7 separate regions of the Homo sapiens genome follow, and all the other regions are linked to region 7. Evidence: promoter capture Hi-C in 16 types of primary human blood cells and fetal thymus (Javierre and others, 2016). All regions are on one chromosome and are shown on one strand. Each heading gives the region's core, a stretch centred on a gene start or on the middle of the fragment in contact. The rest is flanking DNA. Distances are from core to core; before and after follow the strand shown.

The links. The method cuts DNA at HindIII sites, captures the fragments that hold promoters and counts their contacts. A CHiCAGO score of 5 or more calls a contact.
Region 1: a fragment that was not itself captured here is called in contact with the fragment with the promoter of PUM2 in region 7 in 4 of 17 cell types (monocytes, total B cells, neutrophils and 1 more); the score reaches 6.0 in monocytes.
Region 2: a contact is called between a fragment that was not itself captured here and the fragment with the promoter of PUM2 in region 7, in 1 of 17 cell types (total B cells). The highest score is 5.8, in total B cells.
Region 3: a fragment that was not itself captured here is called in contact with the fragment with the promoter of PUM2 in region 7 in 7 of 17 cell types (activated CD4 T cells, erythroblasts, M1 macrophages and 4 more); the score reaches 7.1 in activated CD4 T cells.
Region 4: a contact is called between a fragment that was not itself captured here and the fragment with the promoter of PUM2 in region 7, in 2 of 17 cell types (non-activated CD4 T cells and total B cells). The highest score is 5.9, in non-activated CD4 T cells.
Region 5: a contact is called between a fragment that was not itself captured here and the fragment with the promoter of PUM2 in region 7, in 2 of 17 cell types (total CD4 T cells and activated CD4 T cells). The highest score is 5.8, in total CD4 T cells.
Region 6: a contact is called between a fragment that was not itself captured here and the fragment with the promoter of PUM2 in region 7, in 6 of 17 cell types (naive CD8 T cells, naive CD4 T cells, M0 macrophages and 3 more). The highest score is 7.2, in naive CD8 T cells.

Annotation. Positions count from the first base shown.
Region 1 is chr2:20,691,947-20,695,063 of GRCh38, reverse strand. All of the region lies in intron 6 of LDAH (lipid droplet associated hydrolase), which reads left to right. Among named protein-coding and RNA genes, the nearest start is that of GDF7, 26 kb to the right of the region's middle. RefSeq lists a silencer at 1,064-1,248. The HindIII fragment of the contact is 1,880 bases long and covers 866-2,745 here.
Region 2 is chr2:20,756,524-20,759,838 of GRCh38, reverse strand. The region is part of intron 4 of LDAH (lipid droplet associated hydrolase); the gene reads left to right. Among named protein-coding and RNA genes, the nearest start is that of LDAH, 65 kb to the left of the region's middle. The HindIII fragment of the contact is 3,253 bases long and covers 195-3,315 here.
Region 3 is chr2:19,957,177-19,960,259 of GRCh38, reverse strand. The region is part of intron 11 of WDR35 (WD repeat domain 35); the gene reads left to right. Among named protein-coding and RNA genes, the nearest start is that of WDR35, 31 kb to the left of the region's middle. The HindIII fragment of the contact is 2,030 bases long and covers 819-2,848 here.
Region 4 is chr2:20,831,892-20,835,248 of GRCh38, reverse strand. No RefSeq gene overlaps it. Among named protein-coding and RNA genes, the nearest start is that of LDAH, 10 kb to the right of the region's middle. The HindIII fragment of the contact is 942 bases long and covers 1,010-1,951 here.
Region 5 is chr2:20,809,727-20,813,043 of GRCh38, reverse strand. All of the region lies in intron 1 of LDAH (lipid droplet associated hydrolase), which reads left to right. Among named protein-coding and RNA genes, the nearest start is that of LDAH, 12 kb to the left of the region's middle. The HindIII fragment of the contact is 1,980 bases long and covers 449-2,428 here.
Region 6 is chr2:19,892,101-19,895,086 of GRCh38, reverse strand. No RefSeq gene overlaps it. Among named protein-coding and RNA genes, the nearest start is that of TTC32, 8.4 kb to the left of the region's middle. The HindIII fragment of the contact is 3,471 bases long and covers 1-2,986 here.
Region 7 is chr2:20,349,285-20,352,399 of GRCh38, reverse strand. PUM2 (pumilio RNA binding family member 2) reads left to right here and starts at 1,556. Exons shown (of 21, transcript NM_015317.5): 1 at 1,556-1,803. RefSeq lists enhancers at 197-826, 1,034-1,123, 827-1,458, 1,459-2,088 and a silencer at 1,284-2,173. The HindIII fragment of the contact is 4,637 bases long and covers 1-2,273 here.

The DNA of each region.
Region 1 (3,117 bases), core at 556-3,055, 340 kb before region 7:
CCATTCCAGTACATTTGCCCCCTTCTTGGGGCACAGATCCAGGGAAGGACAGAAACACAGAAGGAGACTGGCGCTCAGGGCCTCTTACTTTGCCAGAGGGCCTCGCCAGAGGAAAGCAGAGGCCCTGGGTTAGCATCTCAGTGCAGTCTCACGTGAGAAAGAGACAAGCCAGTCACTTGATGGCCTCGTGGCTTGTATGTGGGAGGGAGAGGATCCTGGCCCTTTACATGTTAGCCACACGGAAAGGAGAGTGCTGCTCTGCACACCGCTGTATACACAGATGGTTGTTCCAGCTACTGGAGAGTGAGCCACACAGTGCCCCATAGGACCTACTCCTCCTTTGGCGCTCCCATTCCCACCGCTCCCCTCTGTGCCTGCAGAGAGAAGCAGGGTTCACGGGCGGGAAGCATTTGTGTTTTCACCTCCATCCTCAGCCACTTTTTAAAAATCTTTGGAGATTTCAGTTCTCATTTTCTCAAGAATGGTAATTGAGCCAGTTAGGAATAAACGGAAGAGAGGAAACAAGGTAACTGGAAAAACTGAAGTCCCTAAACCATCTCCCTTTCTTTAGCAATTCTGCAAGTCCCTAAAAACAGAGGCTCAGAAAGACTGCAGTGAAATGTTGACACTTTGCAGCTGCCTGTGTCCCCAACAGGGATAAGATTTTTTAAGTAACTGAAAGGAGATGCTTATATCACAGAATCGGTTTCCTTTAACATTGCAAGATTGGGGCTTACATGTCTTTGACTCTGAGGGGAGGGGAGAAGTGGAAGCCTGCTGCTGTCATCCAGACTGTCTGGACTCTCCCCAGAAATGGGCATGCATTGGAGGACCTAACAGTTTATATCCCGAGCCCGGGAAAGCTTCAAGGGGATGAAAACAGGAGATAAAGGCAGGGTAGGGGCCCTAGCTGGGAAGTAGGGGGCCTGTATGTGTAGGTACTAATTTGATCCCTTGGTATTCAACCGACTGCTTTATATCTGACCTTTTGCTTTTTTCACAAACAATGAAACAAGCAAAAAACCTGCTCTAGTGCAAATTATTTCAAAGAAGGAAAGAAAACCTGGAGAAAGCAGGAATGACATATTTTTCTTAGACCTCTGGAAGAAAGGCCAAGAAGATAGATCTCTCTCAGAATCTGTGTCACTCCTCTTTGGTCACTGTCTCTAGTGCTGGCTTCCTGGTTGCCCTGCCATGCAGCGTAAGCTGCCAGGGAGCTACAGCTGTTGATGAAGTGCTAACAGAAAGCCTTGCATTGCTCAGAAAAGCGGTGGGCATTACCTTCACTGCTGCAAGAACCCACAGGCTCACCCTGTGAGCTCACCAGGAAGAAAAGTAACTCCCAGAATGTCGGTGCCTTTCTTCATTTGGAAGATGCTCAACCAAGGATAGCCAAAGGGCACTATAGCTTAGGCTCCAGGTCTCCTTTATGAGGAAAAGTAGGTTTTATTATAAAAGTGGAAGTATAGAATCCACACCAAGAGCTGACTGTTAGTGGCGGCTTGAGGATAGGGATGTGCTTCACTGTTTATTTGGTTGGCGACTTATCTTCTACCCCACCTGTCTTTCTCTACAGTCATGTCTGGGGAATATGACATGTACATTTTTTAGATAATGAGTAAGTATATGGTAAAACAACTTTGTTTTATATTTTAAAAAATGTTTAATACTTATACATTTTCTGAGCCTATGTCAAAAACAACTTATCAGAATAGAATATATTTTCTCAAAGGCTAATGTAAGGTCATGTGGATTCTTTTTCCTTGAGCAGGGCACAGCTCCCACCCACCCAGCCCACCATTGCCCAGTCTGTGTCGAGGAGCTCCCTTTGTCCTCACCTGTAAAGCAGCAGCCTTTAAGAGTGCCCACCATGTGGAAAGCACTTGATACACTTTGTTTTCCAGTCCTCAGCACTAGCCCACAGGTAACTAGTTCTGTCTTACTTTACAGATGAGTAAACAGGCACAGGGAAGCTAAGTAACTGGTCCAGGCTCACAGCACCAATAAATGGCAGAACCAAGATTCCAGTCCAGGTGGATATGGCTCAGGGACCTGTACAGTCTTAACACTGTACTCACTGCACTACGCTCTTCTTGGCTGCATAAGGAGCTTGAGTAGTTTCACAAATTACTTTAGAATAATATAAATACAATTATTTTACCACACTGTGATATAAAGACATTATGAGAAGCCCTTTCACTCTCAGCATGACACCCCCAGAAATGCCGTTTACCACCCTGCTCAGGCCTGCACTATATCACAAAACAGGCACCCCACAAATTGACTACCCAAAGTAGTCTGTGCCAAAGGCTCATCAAGCTGGATTTCTCGTTGGAAACATTTCAAGTTGTATTGATGAGATATCGTTTGTACCAAACTTGACTTCGTGGTGAATTATGATTTAAAGAGCTTCTAAAATTCAGTTTATCCATAAGGTTAACACCAACAACAAATATATATATGCAAAAATATATAGAGATGCAAAACTTTCATTTTATTAGCCCTTTTATTCCTGTAATGCCTGTAGTCCTACTGTCCTATTGAATAGACAGATAATTCAGATAGAGATTTTTATGTGTGGCTTTTAAAATTGTTATTATTTTAAGATGTTGCTATGTCATTGAAAGTGAGTTTTGTTATTAGCTAAATCATAAGATGCTTCTAATATTTCTTTGTTCTTACTATAAATCCTCTATTAGTAATGCATAAAAGCATGCAACTCCAAATGTATACTAAAACAAAGCTTTGTTCATGTTCACTCCCTCAGGGCAGAATTTGGGTTTTCCTGCTTTGGGGTCCCGTAGGGCTTTGTCCATACCTCTGTCTGCCTGTTGTATTTAAGAGCCAGTTTATATAGGTCTGTTCTCTCGCCTAGTCTGTGAGCTGTTCCAGGGCAGAGACCATCTTACACACTTCTGAATGTCAGCCACTTAGCCTAGTACCAGATATGGGATGGAATCAGAGTCATTTTTGGTGGAACTCATTTTAATCTATCAGCTTCAGCAATTCACTGTCCAACAGTGCTGTTTGTAGACCCCCCAAAAAGTGGGGAAAAAAAAACACACAGAAGAAAAGACAGATGTGGGGACAAGCTGCAGCAACCTGCAGGGATATTTT
Region 2 (3,315 bases), core at 572-3,071, 410 kb before region 7:
TGGATATAGGTCTGAAAAATGTCGCTTGTACCTGGCCACACTGAAGCCTTGTTCATAGAAGAGCACATTCATAGAGCCTCAGTGGACAGACTATAACTATCAGAGAAGACATAACAGGGAGGGGAGTGGAAACAGATGAACAACATTCTGTGAAATTGCCTCTTTTTGGCTTTTGTTTAGTTCAGATAGAAGCTTCTTTCTAGGTCTGTTTGTGGAGATGAGAAGTATGATTGTGATCTTTAAGAAAGGAAAAAGCTCTCTAATATGGTTAACCAGCATGTATGAGGTTGTTTTACGCTCACTTCCAGCTTGTATGGAAAATCTGTGAACAATATGCAATGTAGGCCACAAAAAATTTCCTGAAATGGAAAAAGCCTAGCAGGCACTAAATGAAAGCTAGGCACTAAATGAAAGATGCTTCACAAGAATAAAATGTGGTTGCTTTGAGATCTCACATTCCAGGCCATTTCAGACTAATTGTATTTGTTTGGGAAGAAGCAAGATTGTCAGGTATCAGGAAGGTGTATTGATACATAAAAGATGGAAGCCAGCGTCATACTGCAAACCTCTCCCTAGGAAGCCAGACAGTAAATCATTTTCCAGGGTCAGTCATATAGAGACCAGAGGGAGCATGCATGAATGAAGACACAGTCTAGAAACTCCATTTCAACAAATAGTTTCTCCCCTCACCAGTACTGTTATGGGAGCTTCTGCAAAAAGCCAAATTGAGTGTTAGAGATTCAGCCTTTTCCCCTTTCATAATCTACTACCCTTAGGAAGATGCTGAGGAGCTTCTTATAACCTCTTACAAAGGAGAAAGTCTCTGAGAGCTTCAGTAATATTATATTAATGTCAATAGACATTTTTTCAGAAGAGATTTCATAAAAACTTAAGGACATATTCTGGTTATCTGGGTACCAGGAGGGTTCTCCTTAAGGCCCTTGTTTCCTTCCGTTCATAGTTGCTGTGTTTGCCTTACAGTCCCTGCACTTAGGGCTCCATCCTGACTTTATAATTTCTCATTGTCTAGATATATATTTTCCTATCTATGTGCCTTTGTTGAGCTACTTCCTTTCTGCTTTGTCCCACACCATCTAACTGATGCCTCCTGTTCTTCTGGAAAATCATCTCAAACATGAGCTCCTGTGTGAACTCTTTCCTGATTCTTCCCAGTCATTTTTACTCTGTCCTTCCTTTGGTAACACTTTTTCTCATAATTCTTCTATATTCTACCCTATATTATAGGCATTGCATATTTCTTTGATTTTTCCTGTTAGATGTTTCAGCTTTCCTTTTAACTAGAGCATAATCTGCATACAGTAACTCTTTTGTTTGTCTCCCTGCCTCGTTCTAGATATTTCTTCTGACTTAACATTCTACTTCACTAATCCTCACTTGAGCTATGTATAAACACCTTTAAACTCATCTGTTACATCCTCAATTTTAGTTATTCTATTTTTTGCCTATAAAATTTCCATTTTATTGTTATAATTACTAATTCCTGCAAATCTCCATCTTGTCATTTAATATCTTGATCATATTATAGTTATTTTAAACTCCCTATCTGACTTTATTCTCCTTTGTACCATCAACAATTTTTAAAATTATCATTACTTTTATAAAAGTTCAGAGATCATATATTTGACATGAAAATAAATAAAGATTGTGTCTGATAATTCCAACATCTAAGTCTCATGTGGTTGCATTCCTACTTCAGCTTTTTCCTTTGCTTTGGTTATATTATCTTGTCTATCCGTATGCTTGTGTATTAGTCCAGGTTTGCCAGAGAAACAACCAATGGGATGTATGCACATGGAAAGAGGTTTATTATAAGGAATTGGCTCACATGTTTATGGGGGTTGACAAATCCCAAGATCTGTAGTCAGCAAACTGCAGACCTAGGAAAGCCAATGATGTAATTGTAGTTTCAGTCCAAAGGTCTGAGAGCCAGAATTTCTGATGGTTTAATTCCAGTCCAAAGGCTGGCAGCCTCAGGACCCAGGAAGAGCTGATGTTTCATTTTGAGTCTGAAGACAGAAAAAAAAAAAAGTCCTAGCTTGAAGGTGGTCAGGCAGAAGGAATTCTCTTTTATTAAACCTTTTGGTTCTAGTCAGACCTTCAACTGATTGGATGAGGCTCACTCACATTAGGGAGGGCAATATGCTTTACTCAGTGTACCATTCAAATGTTAATCTCAGCCAGAAACACCCTCACACATCCAAATTGTTTGACCAAATATCTGGGCACCCTGTGGCCCAGTCAAGCTGACATGTAAAATTGACCATCACAGCTTGGCAAGTATTTTTTTTAACTGAATACCTGACATTATATGTGAAAAATTAGTAAAACAATATTAGAATCTTATCTTCCTCCAGGGAGGATTTACCTTTGTTTTTGCAATTATTCTTAGGGTAGGTCACTTTGATGCCATTGGGAATTGGGTTGAATCAAAGCTATCTTTGGAGGGGCTGGCCTATTTCCAGTTCATCGTTACTTCTAGGGTATAGTCCTTTAATAGTTTCCACTGAAAGCCTAGAGTGCCTTCTCTTTTATGGGCACACAATTCCCAGGTTTTTCCTTCAAGCTCACAAGATTTTTCAGAAACTCTCTTCAGCTTCTTGGCTTCTTAGCTACTGCTTGCAAATCAGCAAATAACAAAGAAAAGCTACTTCAGCACTCCTCTCTGAAGTTCCTTTTTCCCTAGCATTTTAGCCTTCAAATCTCCTCTGCCTCTGATGCCTTCAAGGGGACTTTAAAAAACTTTCCCAACTTTTCTAATTGTTCTTGGCAAGGAGATTGCTCTCCAACAAGATAGCCTGCCATCTTCACCTCCTATCAACACCATTAGCAGCTGGTGCTGAGCTTTAAGTTCTTCCAGCTCTGCTATTGAGAAGTATGTCATTTCAAGTTTTTAATTATTTTTGTGAACTGTTTTCTTCCTCTGGAAAGTTTTAGAATATTCACTTTATTGTCAGTATTATATTTTCTGATGATATTCCTTGGACTATTTATCCTTTTTAATCCAGAAACTGGCATACTTACACACTGAAAACTCTTGTATTTTTTTCTCTACTTGTTTTCTCATTATTTGTGTGTTATACTTTCAGAAAAGATTTTCTTGATTTATTTTCTTTTCCATTATCCATTTCTTTCAATTTTTAGTTTTTTGCAATGAGAAATAGGGGATATTTTCCCTACTTTATCTTCCAATTCATCTAATTAAACTTTTGATTTTGGCATCTATGCAAATAGTTTCTAAGGAATTTCTTGTTCTTTTCTTCCTTTTTGTAATATCCTTTTTATTTTTACTTCATG
Region 3 (3,083 bases), core at 584-3,083, 390 kb after region 7:
AAATATAATTGTGTAGGAATTGGTATGCAGCGTAATGATTAGTATGTAATAAACTGAGGATTATAGAAAGAATTTTGCTATTAAACCACTTTCATTATTAATAAACTGCTTGTAAATACCTCTCTTCCATAAAAACACTTTGGCTGCTTGTAAAAGTGAGTTTGCCCTTTCCAGATTTTTCTAATGAAATGAGTCTATTAATAGGGACAGTTTTAAAAATTCCTGACTTTTTGTTTTCAAAGGACTTTTGTTACTTTAGATTTACTATTCCCTCTACCCAATAACTATGAAAGTAACCCATTAAAAATTCCAAATCTTATTCTAAGTAGATTATTAAAAATCATTAACAAGTATTTTGTTGCCATTTCACTGTAACTTCCAAAAGTAATGATTTTCTTTTAATGTGTATGGTAGTATATTGGATACAGTATTGTAAAAATTATTAAATCTAAGAAATTAAAAACCCATTGCATTATTCCTGAGAACCTGAGAACTAGTCATTTTTTTTTCATATTGGACATTTAGCCTAAGCAATTAAGTATTAATGCCTGTTGCCTTTTGAGTGTTTGCATTTTGCTAAGTGTTTGTTGAAAAAATTGCTAAGTGTTTGGGTGATAATAGCAAATATGAGAAATAATGACCTCAAAGACTTTATACTCTATGGCTTAGGGTCTTGATAACCTACTCACTTAGATATATTGACACATTTCAACTTCATGTCTTACATTCATTGCTACATAGGCATGTTTATATGTTTTATATGTGTATATATTTATATACACATATATATACACATTAGTGTTCCTTGTTAAAAAGCTTAGCTTAAAATTATTAACAGACTCTCATCACATAAATATCTCTTGTTTATTAGAAGCATTAACAGTCTTTAAGAGGTAAATTTTGTCAGTCTTCAGATTATATGCTTTTTCTTTTAATATCCAAAGTTTTAACATAGAATCATAATGGTGATAGGGTTAATGTCAAAGTAATTTTTATCACAAGTAGACTGTTTTTTTAAAATAAAGCTAAATGTAAATCCTTCTTCATAAAATGGCAAATACTTGAGAGCATGACTATTTGTATTTTTGAGTCTCAAAACTTTTTTTTTTTGTAGTCTTGCTGACTGAGATTTTAACAAACAGTTCTTTCATTGGCCTGCAGTGAACACAGCCAAAGACTCAACATTTTTGTTTCATACATATCCTGTAAAATTTCTTTTTTAAAGTTTCTATGCCAAATGTTTATGAGGACTAGAGGCTAAAATAAAAAAAGTCTGTGAGTGATACTCTTCTAGAATTTATTATTTTTGTTTTGCCACCTACTCTTCCTCTTTATAATTTTTGTAGAAACTTTAAAATGAACTTTATAGATTATTATAGAAGTGTAGTTTGTGGGACTCTGTTATACTCTACACATGAGAGTTAGGTATCCTTTTTTGGTGTTCTTTTCTTGAGCACTCATAATACCTTTGGTGTGCTTCCATCCAAAATACCTCTTAACCTGCACTGTGGTTACTAATTTTCTTGTCTATCTTCCCCACTAGACTTTGAACTTCTTAAAGATCTACGTCTAATTAACTTCTGTATCCCCATGACCTAACACTGCCTTGGCCCATAATAAATGTTTATTGAATGCATGGAAATTATTTATTTTCTATCATGTAAATAAAAAATGATGATTCATTTATTTAGCAAACTATCAATGAGTATATACTGTTTCAGGTACTGTACTGGTCACTGGGAATAATAAGAAATTAATTATGACATTTCCTGTGGGATTTCTGAACAAATAATTAAAACCTAGTTAATTCATTGAACAGTGATTTATTGCTTCCCTACTGCGTGCTAGGTATTGCTCTAGGTGCCAGGTAAATGGTTATTGGTGCATAAGGACATCAGAGACATCTTTCTACTTAGAGAAGGTTTCATTTGAGCTGAGTTTTGAAAAGTAAGTATTTCTTTAGGTGATATTTCAAGGAAAGAAAACGGCATTTGCAGAGGAATGAAGGCATGGAAAGTGGCCATCAAGTACCAGTTTGCCTATGCTGCAGCCATTTTAGTGGGAGCACATGGGCAGCTTTCTAATGATGGTATCTAACACGTGCACTAGGTTTTCCATATATTTTAGAGAAAGTTAATTTGATGAAAACATTTCAGTGAAATTTCAATTTACCAGCACTTGAAAGGGCTGAGAAATGAATAAATGGGAAAGTGGGTGAACATTACAGATGTAGGCATTTATTTCATGCCTTAGCATTAAAATATTACAAGCAGGTTTTATTTATATGTGAATTCCAAGATTGTTTTAAATTATTTTACATCCTTGCTTGGCTAGTAATGACTGCCTATTAGCATTACAAAGTTCAGTTAATGAAAGCATAATTATTTTCTTAAAAACTTTTTTTCCAAGCTGGGCATGGTGGCTCACTCCTGTAATCCCAGCACTTTGGGAGGCTGAGGTGGGTAGATCACCTGAGGTCAGGAGTTCAAGACCAGCCTGGCCAAAATGGCAAAACCCCATCTCTACTAAAAATACGAAAATTAGCCAGACATGGTGGCATGCACCTGTAATCCCAGCTACTTGGGAGGCTGTGGCAGGAGAATCGCTTGAACCCAGGAGGCAGAGGTTGCACTGAGCAAAGATCGTGCCACAGCTCTCCAGCCTGGGTGACACAGCAAGACACCGTCTCAAAAAAAAAAAAAATCCAATAACCTTTCTAGATATTTCAAATTTTTTTCTTTTCAGATATTGAACAGTCAAAAAGGGCATGGAGGGCCTTCATCTTGGCTGTGTTCTTGTCCTAAAACATTGTATCTGTTAAGATTTTGTTTTGCTTTTCCTAGAAGCTTAGTCTAGATGGGATGAATCTTAATAAAGATCTAGCAAAATATGTATAGATAGGATTATCTACCCATATGAATTTGCTGAAATTACCACCTTACTGATTCAAAAGAACATATTTTTCAGATATATTTCTATTTTTTGTAGTAACTGAGAATTTATATATGGTTTTATTATAAAATCCTATGTAGGTGATAAAAGTGAAAAGAACAATAGCAACCATGTCTAACTAATACTTCTTA
Region 4 (3,357 bases), core at 231-2,730, 480 kb before region 7:
TTTCTTCACTGATCATGCTTTTTCAGACTATTTTACGTATTTGTTAAATTAATCTCCTCATCTAGAATGCAATTTTCTCTCCTTTACGCAAATACTATCTTTCAAGGCAGAGTTCAAGAATATTCTTCAGTCAAAAGCCCTTCTTACCCATTTATAGTTCGCTGGACTCCCCTTCTTCTGACTCTTACAAGTGTGCTCTTCAATATAGTTCTTGAGGATGAGCTGGTCGATAGAATGAGCACAGTTTTACATGGGCTAATATCCTCTGGACTAGAAGGAGGTTTCTCAAACCAAGGCTAGCACAATGCTTAGGATGTTATAGGACTCATCACATGGGGGCATTCTCCAAACAGGAAGAGAGCCACATCCTCACATGGGCCGCCAAAAAGTTAAAGTACCTACTTAGTCGCCACGGGCACTCTTTGGAGCTGATATATCAACCTCACCATCTTGGGAAAAGAAAGAAACAAAAGGAAGGAAGGAAGGAAGGAAAGAAGGAGGGAGGGAGGGAAGGAAGGAGGGAGGGAGGGAGGGAGATAAGGAGGGAAAGGGGAGGGGGAGGGGGAGGGGGAAGGGGAGGGGGAGGGGGAAGGGGAGGGGGAAGGGGAGGGGGAAGGGGAGGGGGAAGGGGAGGGGGAAGGGAAGGGGGAAGGGGAGGGGAGGGGAAGAGGGAGGGAAGGGAATGAATGTGGTTCCCCCATTTCCGTGAAATGTTACACAAAAGAGATGACTCCAAAATTTTAATAATATTAGAAATTCACATTTTAAAAATATTTTAGTTTAACTCTGTGAATTTCAGCTAAGAATTCTAAAGCAAACCATAAATGAAAACGGAATCTAAGAATGGATTTGAACCCTGTGCTACAGTGTGCCTATATTTTGGTGATCACAAACTGACTGTGAGAAGGCAGGCAAACATGAGACCGCTTTAAAGGTATCTAAATTCAAGAAAGCAAAAGTGTAACAGAAACCATAATAGTACTTTGGCAACAACTAGTGCTCTGAAGCTTGGGATTCTCTAGCTAATATCATTCATTTGTTTTCAAAACAGAAATGGTCTGAGCCTTCATTTAGTTGATTTATTAGTTTCCTATGGTTGCTGCAACAAATTATCACAAATTTGGCCCTTAAAACAATACTAATGTATTATCTTACAGACAGCTCTGGAGGTCAGAACTTCAAAATGGGGTTTTTTTTTGTTTTTTGTTTTTTGAGGCGGAGTCTTGCTGTGTCTCCCAGGCTGGAGTGCAGTGGCGCAATCTCGGCTCACTGCAAGCTCCGCCCCCCGGGTTCACGCCGTTCCCCCGCCTCAGCCTCCGGAGTGGCTGGGACCACAGGCGCCCGCCGCCTCCAAATCGGTTTTAATGGGCTAAAATCAAGATGTTGATGGGCCTGTGTTCCTTCTGGAAGTTCTAGAGGAACATTCACTTCCTTGCTTTTTCCAGCAATTGGCTGCCTACATTCCTTGGTCTGTGACCCCTTCCTCCACCTTCCAGCCAGCAGCGTAGCATCTTCCAATCCCTCTCTTTGACTGACAGCTGCCTCCACCATCACATCTCCTTCTCTCCCCGTGCTTCCAAAGTCACAGTATCATCTCTGATTCTGACCCTCCTGTGTCCGTCTTACACAAACCCTTGTAGTTATATTAGGCCCACCTAGAAAATCTTCGATAACCTCTCCTTTTCAAGACCCTTAACACTTCTTAATCACATCTGCAGAATCTTTTTTGTCACATAAGGTAGCATCACAGGTTCCAGGGATTAGGACATGGACATCTTTGGGGTGCCATTGCTCAGTCTACCACAGTTGGATAGGTGGATGGTATGGGAAGGAGTTTTGTCTATGAAAGATTCCATTCTTATTTTACTGGGGAATATAAAGTCTCCATTAAAAAATAAAAAGGAATGATTTGTGAAAAGTCCTGTAACAGTATTATTAACCCACAAAAGCTTTGTTGAACGGACAATAAGTTTCTGAGGAATCCAATAAAATGGGAACATACTGTACTCTAAAGGGATATTCATCTGCAGCTAGTCCTACAAATCTCTACTTTGTTTTTAATTTATAGAGATAGTTGAACTACTTCTCCCATATTTTTCTTATCCTCACCCTACCCTGTCCTGCCACTAAAAGGTTCTTTATGATGTGGTTTCATTGAGGAGGGCTGATGGGTCATATCATGGATTAATACAAAACATTTGGCATTGCAGTTATACTAAACGGTGAATTACCTTGAAAGTCTTCAAAATATGATTTTAGTTTCTCTCTATAATATACATAAACACATATATATACAAATGTATGTGAGTATATACATATATTTTGTATAATTTTTGATGGCACAAGCATCTAAATGTTGGTGTTTGCCAGGTTTTTTTATTCATTTTACAAGCCAAGTGCATGTATGAAGGCAGTACTATCAATGAATAGTCTGCCAACAAGAATCTCCAAGTCTCACAGCTCAAGTGTGCTGGCTTTCAAGACCATCTATTTCTTTGAGTCTTAGCATAATTAAATGCCAGGAGGAACAGCTTAGCTATAATATGGGAGTTAAATATGGCTTTGTCAATTTTTAGCTATTATCTCTATTCTGTGAAGATTTTTAAGGACTAAAATAATACATTTATAAATTTAAAAAAGAATGGATCTTGATTTTTAATTTATGCTTAAGATGAATCATTATGTGATCTGTTTTTCTGACCCAAAGTGTTTGAAAAAAGAATTAATGTGGATCTCAGGATATGCCAGTGCCATTTTGTGGAGGGCCGCATTAAATAATCATATGTTTTAAAGCATTTATAATTATCCCTATTTATAAATATATAAACAAGAAAATTCAGTATTAGAGCCAGTGGGAAAACATAATTCAAAATTCACTAACATTTATGACTCGTGGTCTGATCTCTAGAGTACACATTGAAGAGAAATCTTTGTCTTCTAAACTTTGAAAAAATATCTTTTTTTTCTCTCATCCCTTTGTTCTCTTTCCTTTTTCTTCCTCTTGTTGCCTTTTATATAATCATCAACCACACATATTAATTCAACAGATGTCTAAACCAGGAGTTTCCACTTTTTGTGGAATGGAATAATAAGGTAGAGGGGAACATTTTTGATTAATGAGCACAGGTCCTTCTAGCATTCTAATATCCACCAGATTATTCTCTTCTACCATGAAGATCTGAGTATTACCCATTTCTCTGGCTTGCTGTCATTGTGACATCAACAGCCTTGCTATGAAGTGTCCCCAACTAATCCCTCACCCCCACTAAATGTTCTCCAGCAATTGTGGCATTTCCTAGGAGTTTCCTTCAAGGGTCTCTGCATAGTTGATCTCAGAAATATGAGGAATGCAGCATT
Region 5 (3,317 bases), core at 189-2,688, 460 kb before region 7:
CTGGATTCAAATTCTGACTCTGCCACTTTACAACTTACTAGCTGTGTGACTTAGGCAAATTGCGTAATGTCTTTGAATCAATTTTCTCACATATTTTCTTGGGGTGGGAGGATGAAATAATAGTACCCATCTATAGGGTTGTCATCAGGATTAAATTTAGATAGCATCTGTTAAGTGCTTAGCACAGTACCTGGCTTACAGAAAGCACTCTCAGTTATTAGTTCTTACTGTTGCCTTGGTTCTTACGCTCTTGGACATTTGTTAATATCTATTTTTAAAACTTTATCACCATCCTGCCACTTTCTTGAAACACTCCTCACTGGCTTACATTACTTTACATGTCTTAGTTAATGCCTGTTTCTAATTGTTCCTTTTTATTTTGCTGATATCTTTTTTCCTTACCTATGGATATTGCTCCCAAAATATAGCAGGGGTTGCCAAAGAAGCTTTTGAATTAGGGTGACTGGGAGAATATTAGTCCATATATGGCAGCAGAGAAGTCATGATGTAGGGTTTATAGGGTTGATTTTTAAAACAAGATGATTTTGATACTTGCTCTGCAGAAGTTTTATGCATCAATGAGGCACCCAGATGAAAATGCTCAATAGCTGGAAAAACTTGACAGGAACTTGAGAAGTAGATATAAAGGATTCTCTCACTTGGCTAATTCTCGAAGTGGATGTAATCTCCAGGGGAGAGCATATAGAGAAGGGAATCCAGGGCAGAAACTTTGGGGACAGGGAATAGGAGAGGAAAAGGTTCCCATTGAGGACTGGGAGGTGGCATAGAAGCCAAAATAGAGAATTTCTTTAAGAAGCTGCTGGAGAAACTGTATGTCTACTTTGTTCTCTCTTGAGCTTTAGTTCTGTGGCTCACATTGTCTTCTGGCCTTGTTCCTTATTTTCTTGAAACTTAAACTACATTTGTAACTAATCCCAGCTTCCTTTCCTCCCACTAAATTCCCTTCTTTTACATTTCCCCCTATATGTATGTGAGGAGTGCTTTCATTCCCCTCATCTTTGGCATCAAAATCTGTCATCTCTGCCCCTTTCCCTTCCCTGGTTCTCCATATCATTACCAAGACTCTCATTCACTCCTTTTTCATTCCCACTCTTGCCTACATTTGATTGATTATTATCAAAATAATCTAAACAGGATATTTTGAAATAATCTAAACAAGATTATTTTGATAGCTGCCAAACTCTAGTGTAATCTTGTGTTTTTTCTGTCTTTCATAGTCCTCTTAAAAGAACTAGTTTAGGCCAGGTGAGGTGGCTCATACCTGTAATCCCAGCACTTTGGGAGGCCGAGAGGGGTGGATCACGAGGTCAGGAGATCGAGACCGTCCTGGCTAACACAGTGAAACCCCATCTCTACTAAAAATACAAAAAATTAGCCAGGCATGGTGGCAGGCGCCTGTCGTCCCAGCTACTCGGGAGGCTGAGGCAGGAGAATGGCGTGAACCCCGGGGGCAGAGCTTGCTTTGAGCCGAGATCGCGCCACTGCACTCCAGCCTGGGCGACAGAGCAAGACTCATCTCAAAAAACAAAAAAAAAAAACTAGTTTAATCCAGTTAATCCAGTCCCTCTGCCTTTTAAATCCACCAGATTATCTTTCCTCCAACATCTTCCCAAACTGTTCTGAGGAAGGAGATGAGGTATTAATGAGAGAGATTAGTAGGATCACCATTAATGAAATATAGTCAAATCAGTTTTTAGAAGGTTGAGTCCGGGCGCGGCCGCTCACGCCTGTAATCCCAGCACTTTGGGAGGCCGAGATGGGCGGATCACGAGGTCAGGAGATCGACACCATCCTGGCTAACACGGTGAAACCCCGTCTCTACTAAAAATACAAAAAAATTAGCCGGCCGTGGTGGCGGGCGCCTGTAGTCCCAGCTACTCGGGAGGCTGAGGCAGGAGAATGGCGTGAACCCGGGAGGTGGAGCTTGCAGTGAGCCGAGATCGCGCCACTGCAGTCCAGCCTGGGCGAGAGAGCGGGACTCCGTCTCAAAAAAAAAAAAAAAAGAAGGTCGAATACCTTTTTGGCACCAGGGACCCATTTTGTGGAAGTCAATTTTTCCACAAATGGTGGGGAGTGGGGAGTGATGGTTTTGGGATGAAACTGTTCCATCTCAGATCACTGGGCGTTAGTTTCTCATAGGGAGCATACAACCTAGATCCTTCGCATGCACAGTTCACAATAGGGTTTGCGTTCCTGTGAGAATTTAATGCCTCCACTGATCTAACATGAGGCGGAGCTCAGGCAGTAATGCTTGCTTGCCGCTTATCTCCTGCTATGTGGCCTGGTTCCTAACCAGTTCCAGACCATGGCCCAGGGATTGTGGACCCCTGTTGTATACTATGTCCCCCTCTAAAGCATTCTCAGTTCTTATCGGTGTGCTTTGAAAAAGTTCCTCAGAAGTAAAGCTTATGTGCCTTTGTGTTTAACTTAACTTTGCAGATTGTGTTTTCCAAAGATGGCCACAATAGTAACTCCCATACCACATGTTCTTTTTACAATATGACTTTGACACTTCTTCTACTGACCCCTCTCAGTAGAAATGTCACAGTCATATTGTACAAAGAACATGCTGTCTTTGAATATTGATGGGCTTCTGTCTAACATGGAAGTGATGCTATGTGACTTTTGAGGGTAGGTCATAAAAGGTGATACAACTTTAATCTGGTACTCTTGAGACATTTGCTCTTGGAACCAAGCCACCATTTTCTGAAGAAGCTTAAGTAGCCCATATTGGCAGGCCAAATGGAGAAGGCACATGCAGGTGTTCCAGGCCAACAGCCTATGTGACAACAGCATCAGTCACCAAGCATATGAACAAAGATACTTCCAGATGACTCCTGCCTCCAGTGATCAGATCACACCCAGTTCTTGAGTTTTCTCAGCTAAGGCCCCAGACTTTGGATCAGAGATAGGCTATCTTTGTTGTGCCCTTTCTGAATTCCTGACCCACAGAATCCATAAGCATAGTAAATGGTTGTCTTAAGCCACTAAGTTTTAAAGTAATATTTTAGATAGCGAGAGTAACTGGAACACCCAATGTTTCCTGAGAACACTTTATTTTCTTAAGTATGGTAACTGGTAGCTTGTGATACATGTTCCTTGGAAAACCTGTTTGTGGAATTTCTGGTTTTCTAATTTTTTAGCTTGCCATTCAAGGCCTTCATAGTGAACAGTAGGACAGCTTCGGTATTGGCCTATACATATCCAGCAAATCAGTCTCCTCCCTGAATGGTATTTTATTTATAGTTTCTGTATCAGTATTCTTTTACTCTTCTAGAAAGCCCTTATGTTTATTC
Region 6 (2,986 bases), core at 211-2,710, 460 kb after region 7:
TTTACCTTGTTTAGCGTTGAAACTTTAGGCATTATTCAGATTCTAAGTTTCTGATTGACCAAATAATACCTTGGATATTTACCTTAAAATATATTCATTACCGTTCATATTTCCCACATTTCAGTATTCGTTATTTCCTTTTTCTACTAGAAAAGTAACTTATGTTTTCTAATTTTTTCCTTTGTAAAAACAAAAGAATTGTGGTTTGTTATAAGGTTTCTCTTTCACAAAGTGAGGTAAGATAGGATAAAATGGATTTAAGTTACTTTTGAGTTTAGAATATTACTCCTAACAGTAGTTGAAAAGTGTGGAGCTATTTGTTTTTTTCTGAAATTTGGAACTGAATAAAACCCTTTACTTTATGATAGCAAAGCAAATATCCAAGTTAGTCTTTAGTCATTATCTATTTGCTCTTTTGCTCTGTCATTTGCTCTTTTGCTCTGTCTTTTTTGGTTTTCTGTTTTTCACTGGCTTCTCTACCCTCTGAATCCTAAATGTAGCCTTGGCTCCCTGTCATTTTGTAGGTCTTAAATCTTTCTCCGTGGGCATGATATATTTCAACCCCACCTACCACTCAGCGTTTACACTGATTCTTGTCTCAATGTCTCCCTTTCTGCTAAGTCTAGCCCCCTTAAAAATTTAACTCAGAAGTAAACAGTTTGTATATAAACCGTAATAGCATGTTTTTTTTTTTTCTTTTTTGAGACAGGGTCTCACTCTGTTGCCCAGGCTGGATTGCAGTAGCTTGATGACAGCTCACTGCAGCCTTGACCTCCCTGGGCTCAGGTGATCCTCCCACCTCAGCCTCCTAAGTAGCTTGGACTATAGGCATGCGCCATCATGCCCAGCTAATTTTTGTATATTTTGTAGAGATAGGGTTTCACCACATTGTCTAGGCTGAGCATGAATGTTTACTGTGCTAGTTTTTTGTTTTATTGAGAATAATTCATATATCATATAGTTTACCCATTTAAAGTGTACAGTTCAATGGTTTGAAGGTATATTCAGAGTTGCTGCACCATTTTTTCAAGGTTTTTGGGTATACTGGTCTTGCATGCAAACTGCACTTAAAGTTACAACACAGAAAAAATTTTATGCAAATTAATGACTAAACATGAGAGTGTTTCAAAAACAACAGCTCATGCACAAAACAGATCTAAGAGTCCTAAAAAGTGCTGCTTCTGGCTTCATTCAAATATGTGGCACGATTCCACTTTGTCTCATGTGATGCTCTCTAACTAGAAATGTGTTGAGTAAATCAGACGGCTCATCTCTGCCTGAAATGGATGCTGAATTTAGTGTGTTTAGGTTAACATATTGCTACGCTAAACAAATTGTTGACAAATGTGTAATAGCTTTTCAAGAGCATAGTGAAAAGTTGACTGAATATTTGCTATTTACGCTAGGTGTGTAATTTTAACAATTTCTATATAAATTCACATTTTGGTGTTTTCTGTGTTTCTAAAAAATGTGACAGTAAATTGTGAGAACAGAATGCCCATAATTTAAAATGGCAGTTGGTAAAAGAGGGAGAGTGAGATTTGTTAAATTTCAAATCTAATGTTAAGGGACTTCAAATGACACCATTTCACTCTACAGAAAGGAAAGAAGGATGAGTATAGTCTAATTTCTGTTTTTGAAAAAACAAAGCAATTGATACAATTAAAACACATAGTTTATCCTTTTTAAAATCACAAGAAGGTAAAAGAACACGTCATGTAGCAAGACAAATTATAAAACAAGCAACCTGTAAGGAAGCCCCGAAACTGAAATTATGAATGTGGATATAAAAGTAAAATAGGAACACAACAGTGTAATCCCAGGTTTATATGTGTCATCACAAAATCATAAATATAGCAGTTTAGTGAAGGTCTTATTCTGCATAGAGGATGAAGCTAAGAAATTGAGTAACTTGTGCAAGGTTGTGTCCAAAATCCATATAAATATTTGAAACTGCAATGAGTATCAATGTTTTTGCTGTTGGCATCAACTCACAGCAGATATGTGGACTTTTTTTTTTTTTTTTGGTCCTGATAAAAAATTTAAATTGCTCATAAAATGTTTTAGTACCCAGCAAAGTGAGTATCAGAATAATATTAAAGTATGTTTTTAAATAATGGAATGTTATTGCAATGCCCACATTGCTTGGTGGTCATTTTTCTTATTAAAAACAGACACAAAAGATGGTGAAAAGCAGATTAATTTTAAGAGCAAACTCCATTTGGAAACTAGATAGCTACAGCTGCCAATATGTAAATTTTTATCTTATGTCAAAAAAAGCATCCAATACGTAGAAATAAGGCAAAAGGATTTGCATGGCATTTCAATATCATACCAGCAGACCCACTCAACGACTGTTTAATTCTTTTGGGGAGCCATGTGTGTGCCTTTCTTTGATTTTCTATTTACTCTTGATTAGGGCCCAGACTCTGGGAGGTTGCATGTAACTTGCAGATTTTTGTCCAGAGGAGATGCAAATGAACTCTGGTAGAAAAGATAACCCCAAAAGTTTTGGCTGTATTGCCCTGAAGAACGTTAACCAGTTTTGTATTTAACCTAGCAACTTTATTCCCAAATTCTTTCTTCATGGACCATAAGTACTCAGTTATTCTAATGCTCTTTTACCACTCTGGCGGTTCTCTATTAATGAGTTAAACATTTTTCACATTTTCATTCTATATTCTTATAAGAATCGTGCTTAACTTCAAAAAACATTTTGGCCCTACTACTGAAGAAACAACAAAAAACCCTTGGTATGGTTTGGCTGTGTCCCCACCCAAAATCTCATCTTGAATTGTAATCCCCATAATCCCCACATGTCAAGGGAGAGACCAGGTGGAGGTAATTGAATCATGGAGCTGTTTCCCCGATGCTGTTCTCGTGATAGTGAGTGAATTCTCACGAGATCTGATGGTTTTTAAGGGTTTGGCAAGTTCCTCCTTCTGTCATTCTTCCTACTGCCTTGTGAGGAAGGTGCCTTGCTTCC
Region 7 (3,115 bases), core at 307-2,806:
TGGGTGATGGGGAGCAATGAGATGGTTGAAGCAGAGGCCTGAGCGCCAGGAATTGGATTTGCATTTTAGATAGCAGTGAGCAGAACTGATTGGAGGGAGTGAGACTGGAGACAGGAAAGCTGATTAAGAGCCAGCTACAGAAATCCAGACCTGGGAAGCAAGGCTAGCATTAGTGAGGAGGCAGAGGAAGACTGTCTCCAGAATTACTTGGGAAGTAAAAATCTGCGAGGCTTGGTAAGTTATTTATATTTGGAGTCGGGGTAAGAGGAAGAGACAAGGATGGTTCTCAGAGGTGTAATTTGGGGAATGAATAGGTGGTGACACTGCCAATTACAGAGACAGTACAAGAGTGGGGGGTAGGGGATGGGTGTGACTTCAGTTTTTAACATGCTTGGTGACAAGAAAATTCAAGTGAAAATATCTAGAAGCCTGAAATATGAGCCTAAGGTAGGGGCTTGGGATGGATTTCAATGTCAGACATTTTTCAGTAATAGTTAAAAACCGAAGAGCCCATGTGTATTCAACAGGCACTTGCGGGCACAGTGTGAAACAAAACACAAGGTCCTTGCCCTCGTGGAGCTCACAGTCGCCTAGGGAAGACATATATTAAGCAAACTATACGGGAGGCCCTGAATATTTACGAAGTGCAGCATGTCAGGAGAGCCAGGAGCTGTGCAAACAAACCATCAAGAACAAATCGGACACGGTGCCTGTTACAGCTGTGTGACCTGGAGCCGGTTAGGTTAGAATCCTGGAATCACCACTGCTTTGCATGGGGGTCCAGGACAGCAAGGCAGATTTGGAGTTTCCAACTAGCCTGTAAACGGGGAAGGAGAGAGCGCTTAGTACGCGAGAAAAAGAAACAGCCAACGAGTGAGAATCACTGGCCCAGCTGGAGAACGACCTGAGTTTCCTTTGTGTGCACCGGGACCAAGCACTGGGGGCCGACAATTTGCTGAGAGCTGGCTCCACCTGCCTGGGGTGCAACCACGAGAAGAGTGACAGCCCTCTCGCAGGGTACAATCTTCCACCCCCAGATGCATCTCCCTCGTCTGGTTGTGGGGAGGTACAGAGTGAAAGTTAAAGGCCTGAATTAACGTCCGGCTCTTGTGGGCGCCAGCACTCTGGAAGCGAAATGCCAGGAGTACCCCACGGTGGGCGGCGCGGGCGCAGACACCCGCACACCCAGTTGGGGGAAAACAGTGAGCAACCGGGTAGGAAGCCGAGGGTAAGAAGATTCAGAAGGCGAGGCCCCACGCGGGAAGACAGTCGAACACAGCGTTTGGCAACAGTACGCCTGCGCTCTCCGAGCCCGCCGCGGCGGAGCCCAGGAGGGAAGCGCGAGCCCGCAAGGTGAGGGCGGGGGAGGGCACGCCGGAGAGGCGGCCAAACACGTGAGAGCGCGGAGAACGTGCGCACGCGCAGGGCGCCCCCGGCCCGCGCGGCGGCAGCGCGGGAGCAGGGACGCAAGGCATTAAAAGGAGCCGCGCCTTGGTGAGCGCTCCCCCTCCCCTTTCTCCCGGGGTGCACTGCGCGCGCCCGGTGGGCGGGGGGGAGGGGAGGGCAGGCGGCGGTGGCAGCCATGTTGTTGTGAGTCTCTGTGTCTCACCCTCGGTACTTCGGTGGTTCGGAGGAGGAGGGGGAGGAGAAGGAGGAGGTGGGGTGGGGGGGGAGGGTGGTAGGTGGAGAAAGAAGACATTGCCGCCACCGAAGGCGGAGGAGGGGGAGGACCGCCAAGAGCGACGCCGCCGTGTGCCCAACGGTCGGTGTCCCCGGCTGAGGCAGCGCGGCCGCAGCAGCCCTGTAAGTCAGTCCGCGTTCGCTCTTTCTCCGGTCCTTTGGCGCCGTCGAGGATGGCTCCCCAGGCTTTGTGCGGCGGCCTCGGCGGGAGCCGATCGCCAGCGGGAGGGCGGATAGGGCCTGCTGAGTGCCCGGGCCGGTGCGGCCTGGGGCCCGCTCGCACAATGCAGGGGGAGGGGTGCCGGAAGGGGGTGTGCGCGTGCGGGGGAGGGGGCGCCGCGCCGGCCGCTTTCCCGCTTCCTTCCCTCTGCGGGGCCGCCGCCTCGGGGGCGTGGGGCGCCGACCCGGTTCTCCCTCCGATTCGGCGCGCTGGAGGTTAGAGACCGAGCTGTCGGCCCTAGGGTTCGGAAAGAGGGGAGAGGCCGGGTGGCCCCAGAGAAGCATGCGGATTGCAAGTGGGTGAAGAGGAAGGAGTGGGTTTATGAAAACAAGTGTGGGCATTTTCAAAGGCCCGAGTGTGTCCGGGAAAAGCTTGCCGTGGACAGATGTGGGTATGAAGCAGTGACTTGGATTCGCCTTGTTTAGGTTATAGGAACGGATTTCGATATTCAGAAAAATATGTAAATTAAAACCAAAGACAAGATTAGCGGCTTCTACTATTTGAGCAGTAGTTTTGTATCTGAATTGGGTCAGGTTTTGGGGAAAATGTTTAAAGTTTCATGCCCAAACACGTGTAAAAGTTAGTGTTGTTTCTGAAAACACAGCCAGAGAAAACCTACTTAACTTAGCTTTTTATTCTAACATACGTAAACTTTTGAAGAGAGGAATGTATTGCCAGCATATTAGGTGCAATAAGACATCATGTTAGGACTTAGTACTTTGAGATTTTTACTTGTTGAGAAAACGGGGCAGATGTTTTGGTGAAGGAAAACATGAGAAAAATGCTTGTAAACGGTGAAGAGAAATGTAATACCTGTAAAGGTACTGTATGTCAAGAAAACAATTTTAATAAAGGGAGTTACCGAAGGATTTTAAAAGCTTGTTTAATGGTTAGATTTCGTGTTTAACAGGTGACTCTTCACCATGTGACCTGGAGTATTGGAAGATGACTTAAGGAATCCTGTAAATAAAAAAAAAAAAACAAAAATGAGTATTTTCAACTTGTTTCTCTTCCTAGCCTCCTTTTAAACAATGATTTACTTCATTTGCTCAATCATTATGAATAAAAATGATGGCATTTTCCGTGCTGCAAGAATTTCTTTAAAATTCCGATTTTTGGTGAAATTGCATTGTGTAGAATTTTCTTGGTGTGCATGAGGGCAGTTTTTGTATGCAGAAAAGGTTTACGATAATCTTAAAAATAAAATTTTATTTC